Regions from separate parts of the Homo sapiens genome. Here region 1 is linked to region 2. The links are contacts of gene promoters, found by promoter capture Hi-C in blood cells and fetal thymus (Javierre and others, 2016). All regions are on one chromosome and are shown on one strand. The core of a region is centred on a gene start or on the middle of the fragment in contact, and the rest is flanking DNA. Distances in the headings are between cores, read along the strand shown. Region 1 overlaps EFR3A (EFR3 homolog A). Region 2 holds the start of TAF2 (TATA-box binding protein associated factor 2).

Region 1 (6,930 bases), core at 121-2,620, about 12 Mb after region 2:
TTGCCAGTTTAGTACTTCTAAATTCATGTTCACGTTATTCAGTGAATATCTGAGACTAGCACTATGCTAATCTTTTATTTTCTGAGAAACCAAAGGGGAGGAGGTAAGCACCTATTGAAAGTTGAGGCTTCAAGTAGAATTTATTGGTAACATGCCAGAATTATCCTGTGAAATAAAATTTTTAGTTATGTTCTAGGGTTATCTAGCTTCACAGAGTGGATATAGTAAACTCGTTTCTTTTCAAATGTTGAGTTCATTCTGCAAAATGATTTTAGGATGGGCCATGGTGGAGTTTACATAGTTAAGAATGCAGATTTCACACCCTGACTGGAAGACAAGTGAAATGTTTGTTTTATCTGTCATTGTTAATATTTGTCATGGTACATTTTTTATGACTGAATAAAAATGTGCTGTGGATTGATTGGGGGTACCAGTGTGAGGTGAATAGTGTTCATATTTGCCTTTTCTCTCCTTTGGCAGTCACAGCTGCCGAAATTGCTGGGATAGTGCAGTGGACAACAATATTTCTTTGAAATTCTGTTTGTAGAATATATATCCAACACAGAGATGGCAAAATTGTTATTCTCTGTAGGAATTTAGGAGGAAGTTCACAGCTCTTAGGAGGAAAACTGTGCTCAGATAAGCTAAGTGTTTTTGTTTGATTGGTTGTTTTAATGTTAAATGGTTGAGAGGCTTAGTGATAAGCCCAAGCCAGTTAATCCGTACGAGTTTTAATTAAAATCAAAGGGTTGGAGGTGATCACTGTGGTCTCTCAGACTCTACAATTCCGAGAGCAACCCTTGCTGTAAGTCATAGAATTATTCTACTCTTGCTATTTTGTTGCTTATTTGGAATATTGGTACTCATTGAAACTGTTGTTAATAACTAGAATCCAGTGAAGCATGCAGTAACCCCACTGGTTAAGCAATGATATATCTCATGAATATTAACAGCCACTTCACTAGAATTATTTTGGAGATCCGTAGACTCTTTGAGAAAGCAACCACCTGGAAGGATGCCTGACAGGAAACTGCCAGGACACAGAAACAATTTTGTGGTCGTGTTACAAGCCTGTAGTCTGAAACAATCCTTAGGCACAGATTTCAAGACTATGCTGCTGAATGCTGTTGCAAACCTGTAAACCTATAATTTGACACATCATTTTTCTAGAGGCCTTTATTTCATTCTCCATTCAAAGGACCATTAAGAAGCGTTTTATTTGAAAGATTTTCAAACTCTGAATCGGAGTTTGAGTTGGAACGACTGTTAAAGCTTCTTCATCATTTTATGTTGTGTATCGGGAAGCTGAGCCTTCTGAGAGTTTCCATGGAGTAAAACCATGACTTGAACACAGAACTGGCCCCTATAATCAGTAACCACAGTGAGCATAGTAACATTAATTTTTCTCTAGCACTAAATTGATAATAGTTTAGCCTTTTTTTCCCCTTGAGTTACATTAAGACAAATGTAAGCTTGGTCAAAAATTTAAATCGTTCTGTGAACTTACAAGAATGCATTTGCTTCCATCCTGTCACAGAAATCTTTGGAAAAGCTGTGGATATCACTGGTGTGCTAAGTAGATTCTTGTTTATATAGACACAAACTTAAACTTTTAGTAAACTCCTTATGTGAAAATGGCTCCTGAGTTCACAGATAACTTGCCTCAAAACAGGTCCGGTAAAATGTGCTCTTTTATTTTATATGAAAAGTTATTCTATATTTTCTAGGGAAAACCAAAACTCTCAAATATTGTTTGCTGTTAAACTATACTTTGAGTAATTATGTGTGTTGAATGCTTTCTTTTCTCATTTAGGTACTGACGTTGAGGTCTAGGCAAATTTCTTAGGCTGTAATAATAATATGGTTACTCCATGTTTGTTTTTCTTTTGATGAGGCTAATTACATTTAACTTATTTTTTAATTTATTTTTATGAAAGAAATGCAGAATGAATTATAAAAGAGGGTTGCTGATTGAAGTGTTTTCCTTTTAGAGACACATTACATGCAAACTTGACCTACACTTTCATATTACTGGATTATTAGCCTTTTGTGTTCATTCATATTCTCATTCTTTCTCTCCCCTTTTCCCCTCTTCCCCCCTTTCCTCATTGTCCCTTTGCTTCCTTCTCCCCTCCCCTCCCATCTCCCTCCTTCCTCCCTTCTTCTACCCACCACCTATGTGTCCTGCCAGAGTTGTAGCTGATGAATTTTCTTTTTTGCAGTGACCTTTGGCTTGACACTGCCCTGTTTGCTGCCCAGATCTCATCTTTCAGTCTGTCCCCACTTGTGGGGACATGGGGCTACATTAATGATTATGTAGGTGGTAGGAGATAATGCTGGAGAAAGAGAAAGCCAGAATTTGAGGTTTTTTTTTTTTTCTTTTTTTGAGAGGGAGTCTCGCTCTGTCGCCCAGGCTGGAGTGCAGTGGTGAGATCTCTGTTCACTGCAACCTCCAAATCCCGGGTTCAAGCAGTTCTCCTGTCTCAGCCTCCCTAGTAGCTGGGACTACAGGCATGTGCCACCACGCCCGGCTAATTTTTTGTATTTTTAGTAGAGATGGGATTTCACCGTGTTAGCCAGGATGGTCTCAATCTCCTGACCTCGTGATCCACCCGTCTCGGCCTCCCAAAGTGCTGGGATTACAGGTGTGAGCCACCGCTCCCGGCCATTTGAGGGGTTTTATATGCTCTCGCAATCAACAGTTACGGTGGCTTTTTTATAGGCTTAGTAGCAGTTTCCAACTTACTGATTACTTTATGAAGACTTACAGTTTGCTATTAGTAATAGGAAGTAATTATTGAATACTGATTGTGTGGTAGGCAGTATACTTTGTGCTTTACCTGAATTATCTTCTTTAACTCTTCCACTTTGAGGGAGGCCCTATTTGACCTGTTTTAGAAGATAGAGAGATTGAAGTTCAGAAAAGTTAAGTAACATTCCTAATGACAGTAAGTAATAGAGCTGTTATTGCAACTAGATGGGTCTGACCTCTTAAGTCCCAGCTCTTTTTTCATACTATAGTGCTCTGAGCCAGGCAGGAGTTGAACAGGATCCCATCAGTTTTACACTGTCACTTTTGCTTAGCACTGTGCCTGGTTATATAATAGGTGCTTGGTAAATGCCAAATAAATTAAAAATTGAATCTTTACAAAATTTTTAAATTGATACATAATATTTTCACATTTATGGAGTAGGGTACATGTGATATTTTGTTAGATTCATACAGTGTGTAACAATCAGGTCAGGGTATTTAGAGTATCCATCACTTTGAGTGTTTATCATTTCCATGTGTTGGGAACATTTCAAATCCTCTCTTCTAGCTACTTTGAAATATACAGTACATTGTTATTAACTATAGTCATCCTACTCTGTTATCAGACATTAGAACTTACTCCGTCTAACTGTATGATTTACCTATTAACCAACCTCTCTTCATCCGCCTTGCTCCCCCACATGCTTCTGGCCTATATGCAGAATAGATTGAATTGTAACTGGAGTCAGATAAGTTATTCTTTGGATACCATAACCGGAACTTTTTTTTCCCATAAAGATAGTGTTATAAAAGTTTTATAATTTGGCCAGGTGCAGTGGCTCACATCTGTAACCCCAGCACTTTGGGAGGCCAAGAAGAGAGGATCGCTTTTGGCTGAGAGTTCTAGACCAGCCTGGGCAACATAGACCCCGCCTCTACAGAAAAATTAAAAATTAGCCAGGTGTGTTGGTACATGCCTATAGTCCTAGCTACTTGGAGGCTGAGGCAGGAGGATTGTTTGAGCCCAGGAGGCTGAGGCTGCAGTGAGCTATGGTCTCACTACTATACTCCAGCCTGGGCAACAGAGTAAGACCTATCTCTAAAAAGGAAAATATATATATATTTAGTTTATGATTGTGTTCTTTGCAGGCCTGTCTGTACCACATTTGAGGTCTGAGACAAGAATACAAATGGAGGTCTGCAAATCATAGTTTAAATCAGGGATTTTCAGTCTTTACACTATTGATGTCTGGGACAGGTTTAGGGGTAACAGGGGCTGTCCTATGCACTATAGGACATTAAACATCATCCTTGGCCTCTACGAACTGGAAGCCAGGAGTAACCCTCCTGCCCCAAGCTTCTGTCAACCAAAAGTGTCTCTAGATATTGCCAAATGTTCTCTGGGGGACAAAATTGTCCCTGGTTGAGAACCACTGGCCTAAATATTTAAATGTTATAGACCATACTATGCCCGCAGCCTGGCCTGCTTTCCCATGCAGGGTCCCCAGCCTGCTCCCTAGGCATTGCCGTCTCAGTGCAGAGGTCCAAGTAGCTTGCAGGCTTGATCCAGTCAGTAGGACCCTGGCCTGGGATTGACTGTCAGTTTCCTTCAGGGAGCCAGGGTGGGCAGGTTCCCCTCCTTTGATACTGTACTTTTCCATCTCAGGATTTCTAGATAGATAGTTCCAAGCATCTCCCAGAACTATACTAGCCGAGTAGCTGGACAGATAGAAGGTGGAAGCCTAGCTTTTTGGGGAACTCATTCTGCTTAGACTCTGACTCTAGGTGACATGGAATGGGGAACTTGAAGCAAAAACAGCTGCAGCCATCTTTCTCTGGTAATTTGAGATGGAGTCTCACTCTGTAGCCCAAGCTGGAGTGCAGTGGTGTGATCTCGGCTCACTGCAACCTCCACCTCCTGGACTCAAGCTATTCTCCTGCCTCGGCCTCCCGAGTAGCTGGGACTACAGGTGTGCGCCACCACGCCTGGCTAATTGTTTTGTATTTGAGTAGAGATGGGGTTTCACCATGTTGCCCAGCATGGTCTTGAACTCCCAAGCTCAGGCAATCTGCCTGCCTCGGCCTCGCAAAGGGCTGGAATTACAGGCGTGAGCCACTGTGCCCAGTCTTTCTCTGGTTTTCTAGGGCAGTGATTTTCAGTTATCACTACTCCATGCACTTTCCCACCCACACACACCTCTGTAAAAGGAGAGACAGTCCTCTGTGTTTCGCAGGGCAGAGGCCCTTTTTTTCATGGGTCAAATAAGATACTGATTTTTAGGATGAAACCACATTTTACTCATTACATGGCTCAACTCTGGTGTGGAATGATCCAGTTATCATATGCAGTGTTTCTGTTGTGGTGGGATGGATTGCAGTGAATGAATCTTCATCCTATAGTGGGAGTAGAGAGGTTTTTATTGGTACCATTTAAGGAAAGGGGTCCCAGACAGTCTCAGAAATAAAGAGAAGGGCACAGAAAATCCCAATATGGCCCGCAACTGCTTCAGAGAAGAAAGAGTGGACCGGAAGATAGGACATGAGTCGTTTGTCTAGGTTAAGGAGCCTTCAGTCTTTTTGCTAAATTAACCCTTTTGAGAATCTGATGAAAGCCATGATTATTCTTCCCCAGAAATGCAGATTCTCACCCAAAGTTTTGCATGTAATTTGAAGCAATTCAAAGGCATACTAAGATGGAAAAATGAAGTAAATCACCACAGTGGCAGTTCTCTGAGAAAAGCACCCTAACTGAGGTTGTGGAAGAATATCATTTGCCAAATATATGATGCCAATATAAGTATGTCTTTCTTCTGCTTTTTTGTCTGTTTTCCCCCTAACCTTTTAACATTATCTTATTTTTTCTTACCTTCTCTGTTAGCCTACTGAAATCTTTAAGGTATCATATAATATATAGATGGATATTCAGTAAGGCTTTTCTAAAATTGGTATCTATGAAGAGAGTTAGTTTAAGAATTGCAGGATCACCAGAGAAGGAACTTTAAGAGAGGGAAAAATGAAATTGAATAGAATTTGAACTTAAAAGGCCGTTTTATCCAATCATTAAGGGGAAAGTGAAACCAAAGTAGTTTTGGGGCCAAGGGTAAAGTTCCCCTTTGCCCTCTGAAGGTTCACTGAAAAATCAACTGACAAAAGGCAGATTAATTGGAGAAAAGGCATACAAATTTATGTAACGTATATATGCACAAGAGCCTTCAGAATGAAGACCCAAAGATACGGGGGAAAATGCCCATTTTTATGCTTAGGTTCAACAAAGTATGGACATTATATAGAAATATTGGCCAAAATACGAATGATCTAATGTTAATAGACTGAGTGGGGAAACTCAGCAAGGCCCATCTAGATTTTTCTTGGATTATCTGAGCATGCATTCTTTTCTTCTGGGTATGGGGCAGGACCCTGTCTGGCTTGGGGTCTTGTGACCCACAGTCAAACAAGGTAGGTCAGGTAATTTCTTTATGATCAGTTTTTACGCAGAAAGGCCGAGGGAAAGTTAGAGTAATATTTTTCAGTTTTATGACTGGGTTTGGGGAAAAAGGGTTCTGGTTTTTGTAACCCACCTTGGGGAAGAGCGATTCTGGTTTCTATAGCTAGCCTTAGGGGAAAATGGGACTGAGAGACAGGAAGGCAGGAGAAGGTCAGAGAAAAACTTTTGTTTTTGAGGCCTTCATTTTGGAGTATGTTTTCTGAGGCCCAACAATAGGTTAACTGTGCCATTCAGCTAGATAATGGTGTGGTACTAGAACCCAGCTCATCTGAATCCTGGGTGGGTGTGCTCACAGCTACATACTTCCTACGACCTGCATGGCACATGGAAGGGGTGGGAGATAAGCAGGATAGAAACCATGGCTAACAGTATGAAGAAAGATTCAAAATTAATATCAAATAGGAAAAAAGATATTATTTACAGCATTTGTACAAATCTGAAAGCAAAATACTATGAATCCTATGTGGTTAGAGTACATTTTTGGTCTCTTAGATTACCAAAAGACTTAACACTAACATGCAGAGGCAGTGAAGTACAGTAGAAAAGACAGAAGTTTAGATTGGTACAGCATTTTTAGAAAGCAATATAGCAATATGTTATCAAATACGCAAATCTTAAACCACTGACACAGTAATTTCACTTTTGGGGATCTATCCTTTTTCTTCTCTATAAT
Region 2 (7,222 bases), core at 2,944-5,443:
CGGCCATACTACCAGCTAAGGGAAGCAGGGACTGTTACAATTTAGTTTTATACTATTTCTTTCAACCACTTTTCTTTCCACTATCTTGCATAAAAGACACTAGAGGTAGCTAATATTTTAGGTGGGAACAGGGCTGAACTGTCATCTCTCACACTAACAGAATAGCTCAGGGATTAGCAAACTGTCTCTTAAAGGGCCAGATAGAAATATTTCAGGCTTTGTGGGTCACACAGTCTCTGTCTCAGCTACTCGCCTCTGCCAGCGTAGCTCCAAAACCTCCACAGTCAATATGTAAATAAATGGGGATGGCTGTGTTCAAGTAACATTTCACTTAAAAAACAAGTAGTCAGCCATTACCAACTCTTTCAGTGGCTCATAGGACTTTGTAAGTTCCCCATGTTAGGAGCACTAGCTTTTCATCTCAACCAAAGACAACAGTGGATGCGTTGGGGTTAAAAAGGTAGACTGTTCTGATTATTCTCATTTTGCCCCTCCTGATCTGCTCTCTACCCTACTCAATACCCTACGAGTTGCATTAACTGGGCTCTACCCTTCTGGCTGGGTTGGTCCAACAGTTTCCACAAAAAGGAAACTGGAAAACAGAAGGAAAGCAAGTTTATATTAATTACCCCAGATTCCTTTCCGCCAGGCTGCAGGTAAGCAGTAGCTTCATTCTTCTATTAAAAGACACAGGTCCTACAAGGTGACCCATTCCATGGCTACAGTAGGTTCTAGTAACTTCCCCTTCCCGTTGTTGTTTCAGGCCTAGACAACTGTTCCTCACTGTTGATAGCTCAGAGGGTTCCTCCACCTCATGTTGGTTTCTGTTAACTCTGTTCTAAATACTCCCTTCATTTCCCTCAATTAACTTGTGTGTGTGTGTGAGTGTGTGTGTATATATATGTATGTGTATATATATATACACATACATATATGTATATCTGCCATTTACTTCCTACCAAGATCCTAACCCATACAACATCCAATCAAAGTTTCCAATGGGAAACTTAAGTCATCCACAACCCCTTTATAGCAGTCTTGAAAAAGCCACATGCAACTTCTATTGATTCCTCAGGGACAACACAGGTGGAAGGGGGAATGAAAGACGTAAAAAGTGCATCAAACTCTTAGGTCATCAGTGATTAAAAAGGGTTTCATCATTTGCCAACTTTATGCCCTTAAGAAAGTTACTTAACCTCCATTCTTTTTTTAGTTTTTTTTTTTTTTTTTGAGACGGAGTCTTGCTCCGTCGCCCAGGCTGGAGTGCAGTGGCGCGATCTCGGCTCCCTGCAAGTTCGCCTCCCAGGTTCGGCGCGATCTCGGCTCCCTGCAAGTTCGCCTCCCAGGTTCATGCCATTCTCCTGCCTCAGCCTCCCGAGTAGCTGGGACCACAGGCACCCACCACCACAGCCGGCTAATTTTTTGTATTTTTAGTAGAGACAGGGTTTCACCGTGTTAGCCAGGATGGTTTCGATCTCCTGACCTCATGATCCACCCGCCTCAGCCTCCCAAAGTGCTGGGACTACAGGTGTGAGCCACCGTGCCTGGCCCTGAACCTCCATTCTTTTAGCTGCCTCAATCATGCCTTAATTCTAATATTAGGATTAAAATATTATCTATCTCACAGGGTAATTATGAAGATTAAGTGAGTTAATACACATAAACCTTAGAAGATATCTTACATATATTAATGGCTAAATATATGTTCACTAATTCAATCATGTCAACTCTATTTCAATTCCATTTTCACTAATGCTATCTTCATTTAGGACTTCACCATTTCTCCCCTAGATTACCGCAGTAACCTCTGAACTAGACTCCCTAATTCCCTTATCTTTCCTACCCAATTCATACAACATAATACAACTCAAGTATCCTACTATATAAGATATAAGGTACATAACCTAGGGAAGACTGCATGAGAAATTCCATAAACGAGGAGACTAAATTTAATAAATCTTTTAGGAACATTACAAATCTAAGATTCTATGACTCATGAAAAGCGACATTTTTCTATCTATTCAGCTTATCCTAAGTAAATATATACATACATGGGTAACAAATCTGACAGAGAAGTTGATACCATCACTCAAGGAAAACCAGCTCTCATTAACATTTTAGCCTATGTAATAAAGGTAGCCCTAAGAAAGTAAATTAAATAAATACTTGAGTTTTCAGCCAGGTGCAGTGGTTCATGCCTGTAATCCCAGCATTTTGGGAGGCAGAGGCAGGTGAATCACTTGAGGTCAGGAGTTCGAGACCAGCCTGGCCAACATGGAGAAAACTCTGACTCCATTAAAAATACACAAATAAGCTGGGCGTGGTCATGCACACCTGTAATTCAAGCTACTTGGGAGGCTGAGGTAGGACAACTGCTTGAACCCAGGAGGTGGAGGTTGCAGTGAGCCAAGATCACAGCACTGCACTCCAGCCTCAGTGACAGAGCGAGACTCTGTCTCCAAAAACAAACAAACAAACAAAAAACTTGAATGTTCAAGCTTTTTCCTAAAATTGATTATATCAGCAATCCATACATCTAAATTGTGTCGGGAGGCAGGGGGAGGTAGAGGGTTTCTAGATCTCAAATACTCTATCTAAAACTTCATTACAAAGCAACATCACCTAAACCAAGTCAGTCAAGAAGCAAAAATGGCCTCTTAGAAGCCAAGTCAGTGAGTGTATTAATCTTAATTTTTTTCATAGAAGAAATGTCGCTATGGGCTTATACTTGTTTCATGCACAATTATAAAATGCTTGGCTATACAGGCTTTCATATTATACACCAGATAAAGAGGAATAAAATTTTAATTAGGAAATTGAAAAAAAAGGAAAGGGAGAATTTGGGAGGCAATAGGTATTAATAGAAGGACCATGGAACTTGTAATCATACAGACCCTAATTTTAATTCTTACCTATTCTTGAAACACAATTATCTGGAAGACTACAAACTTTCTAAGTACTGTGAGGGGTGGATTGTTACTCTTTATAGTGGACTTGTTACTATTTATAATTGTTGAGAATAAACTTACCACAACAGATTTTCTCTGGAAATTTATGTTGTTGATGCAGACGACCTGATGGGTTGTATATTAATAAATATAAAAAGAAAATAAGGAAAAAATAATTTTTATTATTAAATCAAAGTATAATTCTATCCAAGTATAAATTAGGACTATGTTCTAAGTAATTCAAAATTACATGTCAATATTTCATTTTAAAACTACGAATTGGGGCCTGGTGCGGTGGCTCACGCCTGTAATCCCAGCACTTTGGGAGGCCACGGCAAGCGGATCACGAGGTCAAGAGTTCGAGACCAGCCTGGCCAACAGAGTGAAACCGAGTCTCTACTAAAAATACAAAAGTTAGCCGGGCATCGTGGCACACGCCTGTAATCCCGGCTACTCAGGAGGCTGAGCCAGGAGAAAAGCTTGAACCCGGCAGGTGGAGGCTGCAGTGAGCCGAGATCGCGCCGTTGCACTCCAGCCTGGGCGACTGAGAGACTCCGTCTTAAAAATTAAAAAATTAAAAAAAAAAAAACACTCTACCAATTGGGATAATTTTTTAAAATCTAGCAACAGTCACGAAAACAGATTTGACAGAAATACAATCTAGTACTTAGACAAAAACTTTAGTAACTTGCAACGGGAATTAAATTTGCTGAATAACCTGTCATTCAAAACATTTTTACCTTACAAACACCATTTCCATCACAGTGAGTAAATTCTAGTTTCCCACTAGGTTTCCCAGGCCCACCAAGTCAATTTCAAGCAATCGCAAAATATAATTAATGGCAACAAAACCAAAAGGAAGGAAGGGAAATGAAAAAATACTTATAATTTATATGGCCTTGGGCTTTCAAAGCCCTTGTCTCCTTTCTTCCTGTTCATTCTGGCGGGCTCTACACCAGTCAGCGGCATGAAGCGGTCCCGCGGAGCTTGGCTTCCCGGCTTCCTAGGGGGATACGGGGCATTACTAGTCTTTGGCACCTCACACTCTCCACTCCCCTGCGGTCCCCAAGTCACGTCTCGCAGCTGGCCGGTGCCCAGGTGAGCGACCTGACGGGTCGCTGCCCGCCTCAACCTCGCTCCTTCGACTAGCTCCTAGAAGCCGCCGTCGACAAGCTTCTGTCACAGAGATGCTCCTCTCCGCAAGGGCTCGAAGCTACCATCCGCCGACATCTTGTCTGTAACCTCTGACCTCCGACGTCAGCGGAAGTGGAACGGCGGCGGGGGTAGAACCAGGAAGTCTTGTCAATGGGCAGGGCTTGCGATCTTCGCATGTGTCTTATCGTAAAGAATTGTTAAAATTTAGGATAGGGAAAAAACTATTTAATGGATGAAGCGAGAACAGCAGGAAGAAAAGGAGGGAAGGTAGTTTTCTAGTACAAGCATATTGAGAAGAATGGAGGACAAAGTTTGCGAAGAGCCAGGTATAAATAGGCTGGGGCAGGGTGCTAGTAACTGGGCGGGGTGGGGTGGTGGGAAGTCTCCCGAAATCAGGAGGTGCGTGCCTCTGGCTTGCTGTGTGAACAGACACACTGGGTCCGGTGATTTAAGCTGTAAAATATGTGATTAGACTGCAGGTAGTCTAAATGTCAAAACTGCAGCACTCCACAGCTCTCACTAGGCACTGCTGCCTTAGTATTTATTTTAAAATATAGATTACAAGGCCGGGCGCAGTGGCTCACTCCTGTAATCCCAACACTTTGGGAGGCCGAGGCGGGCCGATCATTTGAGGTCAGGAGTTCGAGACCAGCCTGACCAACATGGTGAAACCCCGTCTCTACTAAAAATTACACAAAATTAGCTGGGCGTGGTGGTGCACGCCTGTAATCCCAGCTACTTGGGAGGCTGGGGCAGGAGAATTGCTTGAACCTGGGAGACGGAAGTTGCAGCGAGCTGAGATCGTTCCACTGCACTCCAGCCTGGGCGACAGAGCTGAGACTGTCTCAGAAAAAAAAAAAAAGAATAAAATATAGACTACAGGCCAGGCGTGGTGGCTCACGCCTGTAATCCTAGCACTTAGGGAAACTGAGGCAGTCATATCACTTGAGGTCAGCAGTTCAAGACCAGCCTGGCCAACATGGTGAAAGCCCGTCTCTAGTAAAAATACAAAAATTAGCCCTGCGTCGTGGCGTGCGCCTGTATTCCCAGCCACTCGGGAGGGTGAGGCACCAGAATCACCTGAACTCGGGAAGCCGAGTTTGCAGTGAGCTGAGATCATGCCATTGCACTCCAGTCTGGGAGACAAAGCGAGACTCCCTCTCAAAATAAATAAATAGACTACATAGAGATATATAGACTGTGTATATATATCATATAATCCATATAAATGCAGAAACATTTATTGAAAGACATTTCGAAGCCATCGTGTTTGTATTTCATGTTCATGACAATAAAACTTGTAAACTTCAGTAACAGTTAAACCTTCTTTAATTATGGATTAGCCATTAACATTTTTGAAACGTGGACCATTTAACCTCGGCCTACCCCCTCCAACTGTCCTGGTGATGAGTTCATTAGCTAAGTTAAAATTAATTTGAACTTTGATCTAAACCAAAACAAATCAGGAAAATAAAGCTGTAAAGGAACTTTATCAAGCATTCCAAAACCAACTAGAAATTACTTGAAGTTTTCGAGTGAGCATTGCCTGTGCCAGTATTCTTCATTATAGGATTATAAACTCGTTTTTTTCCCAAAGCGCATGTCTACGCCAGGCAGAGGAGTAATTATTCAGCCAATTTCATGGATGTAAACGATGGATATAAATAATTGATAGCACCTAGAGGCTTCCAGTTTGGGTGGAAGGCTAAAAGTAGAGGGGAACTCACTCACTTGAGAAATGATATTTAAGTGAATAAATAGTTCTCTTCTATGAAACTATTACTATTTAGTTCTCTGGAAAACTTAAGTGTATTAATGATTAGAACATCAAATCCTAAGTAAAGAAATGACATTTTAAATATAAAAAGCCAAACTTTAAATAAATCATAGAGACCTCAGACATAATATAGGAAAGAATTCTTTTGTCCTTGTTTACACTGTGTACATAGTACAAATATAATTTTAAAGCTACATCCTATAACATTTAAGAAATAACAGTAGTTTCAAAATGCTTAAGATGAGGAGAAAAATGCCTTAGAAGACTAGGTTTCTAAAAGTCAGAAATAAAAGTACAAGTTATTTTTCTTCTATCCAGCAACTTTATAAAGCAACTTGAGTCCTGAAGAAAAGACCGTTGTTCTTTTAAGAAATGGGTCTTCTCGAATTATAAACTTTAACACCATTTTGCATCGAAGAATGAGAATATTTAGTGAGTAATGCACCTATGGTTTGCTTCTCTCCACACAAATCTCTGTAGGAACAATAAAAAATATATAACATGAATATTTTAGGGAACATATTATGATACAGTACTATGTACTTATTTTCTCTCTCTCCCCCTGAATCTGTCTTCTCAACAAGCGTAAGTGTAGGTGTTTGTGGGAGAGATAGGGTGGGGAGTGGTTCTAAGTTTTAATTAAATTAAGTACATTATATGTATTGTCTCATTTAACCCACACAATAAAAGTAGGAGTAGGCCAGGCGGGTGGCTCACGCCTGTAATCCCAGCACTTTGGGAGGCCGAGGTGGGCAGATCACAAGGTCAGGAGTTGAAGATCAGCCTGGCCAACGTAGTGAAACCCTGTCTCTATTAAAAATAGAAAAAAATTAGCCGGGTGTGGTGGTGGGCACCTGTTATCCCAGCTACTTGGGAGGCTGGGGCAGGAGAATTGCTTGAACCCGGGAGGCAGAGGTTGCAGTGAGCGGAGATCGCGCCACTGCACTCCAGCCTGAGTGACAGTGTGAGACTCTGTCTCAAAAAAACAAACAAAAAAAAAAGCAAAAAACAAAAACTAGAAATAATGTATTATTTAACCCTATATTAGATATGAGAACTATGGCTCAGACAAGTAATAAATGAGAGTCAAATCCTGCCACCAGGTTTGTACAACTTCAAAGTCTATGCTATTTCTATTATATGACACAGCCTCTAAATTAGAAATACAAGCAGTGTAATACAGTGAGGCCTACACAGCAGGGCCTAGAGTCAGAGAACCTGGATACAAGGTACCTGTGTGAACTTGTCTAGGTTACCAATGCTTCCTGAACTTTGGTTTCCTCTTCTGTACCTCAAAGAGAAGAAGATTACGACCGGAACATAATAAGGAGAGGGAGGAATA

What was found. The method cuts DNA at HindIII sites, captures the fragments that hold promoters and counts their contacts. A CHiCAGO score of 5 or more calls a contact.
Region 1: a contact is called between a fragment that was not itself captured here and the fragment with the promoter of TAF2 in region 2, in 1 of 17 cell types (naive CD4 T cells). The highest score is 6.1, in naive CD4 T cells.

The regions. Positions count from the first base shown.
Region 1 is chr8:131,905,693-131,912,622 of GRCh38, forward strand. The region is part of intron 1 of EFR3A (EFR3 homolog A); the gene reads left to right. Among named protein-coding and RNA genes, the nearest start is that of EFR3A, 5.1 kb to the left of the region's middle. The HindIII fragment of the contact is 200 bases long and covers 1,271-1,470 here.
Region 2 is chr8:119,828,648-119,835,869 of GRCh38, forward strand. It overlaps TAF2 (TATA-box binding protein associated factor 2), which reads right to left and starts at 4,194. Exons shown (of 26, transcript NM_003184.4): 1 at 3,835-4,194; 2 at 3,030-3,084. The coding sequence starts at 3,917. It overlaps DSCC1 (DNA replication and sister chromatid cohesion 1), which reads right to left. Exons shown (of 9, transcript NM_024094.3): 9 at 5,329-6,354. The coding sequence ends at 6,246. LOC105375728 (a long non-coding RNA gene) reads left to right here and starts at 4,232. Exons shown (of 4, transcript XR_928590.3): 1 at 4,232-4,429. RefSeq lists enhancers at 3,846-3,895, 3,956-4,315. The HindIII fragment of the contact is 3,868 bases long and covers 4,120-7,222 here.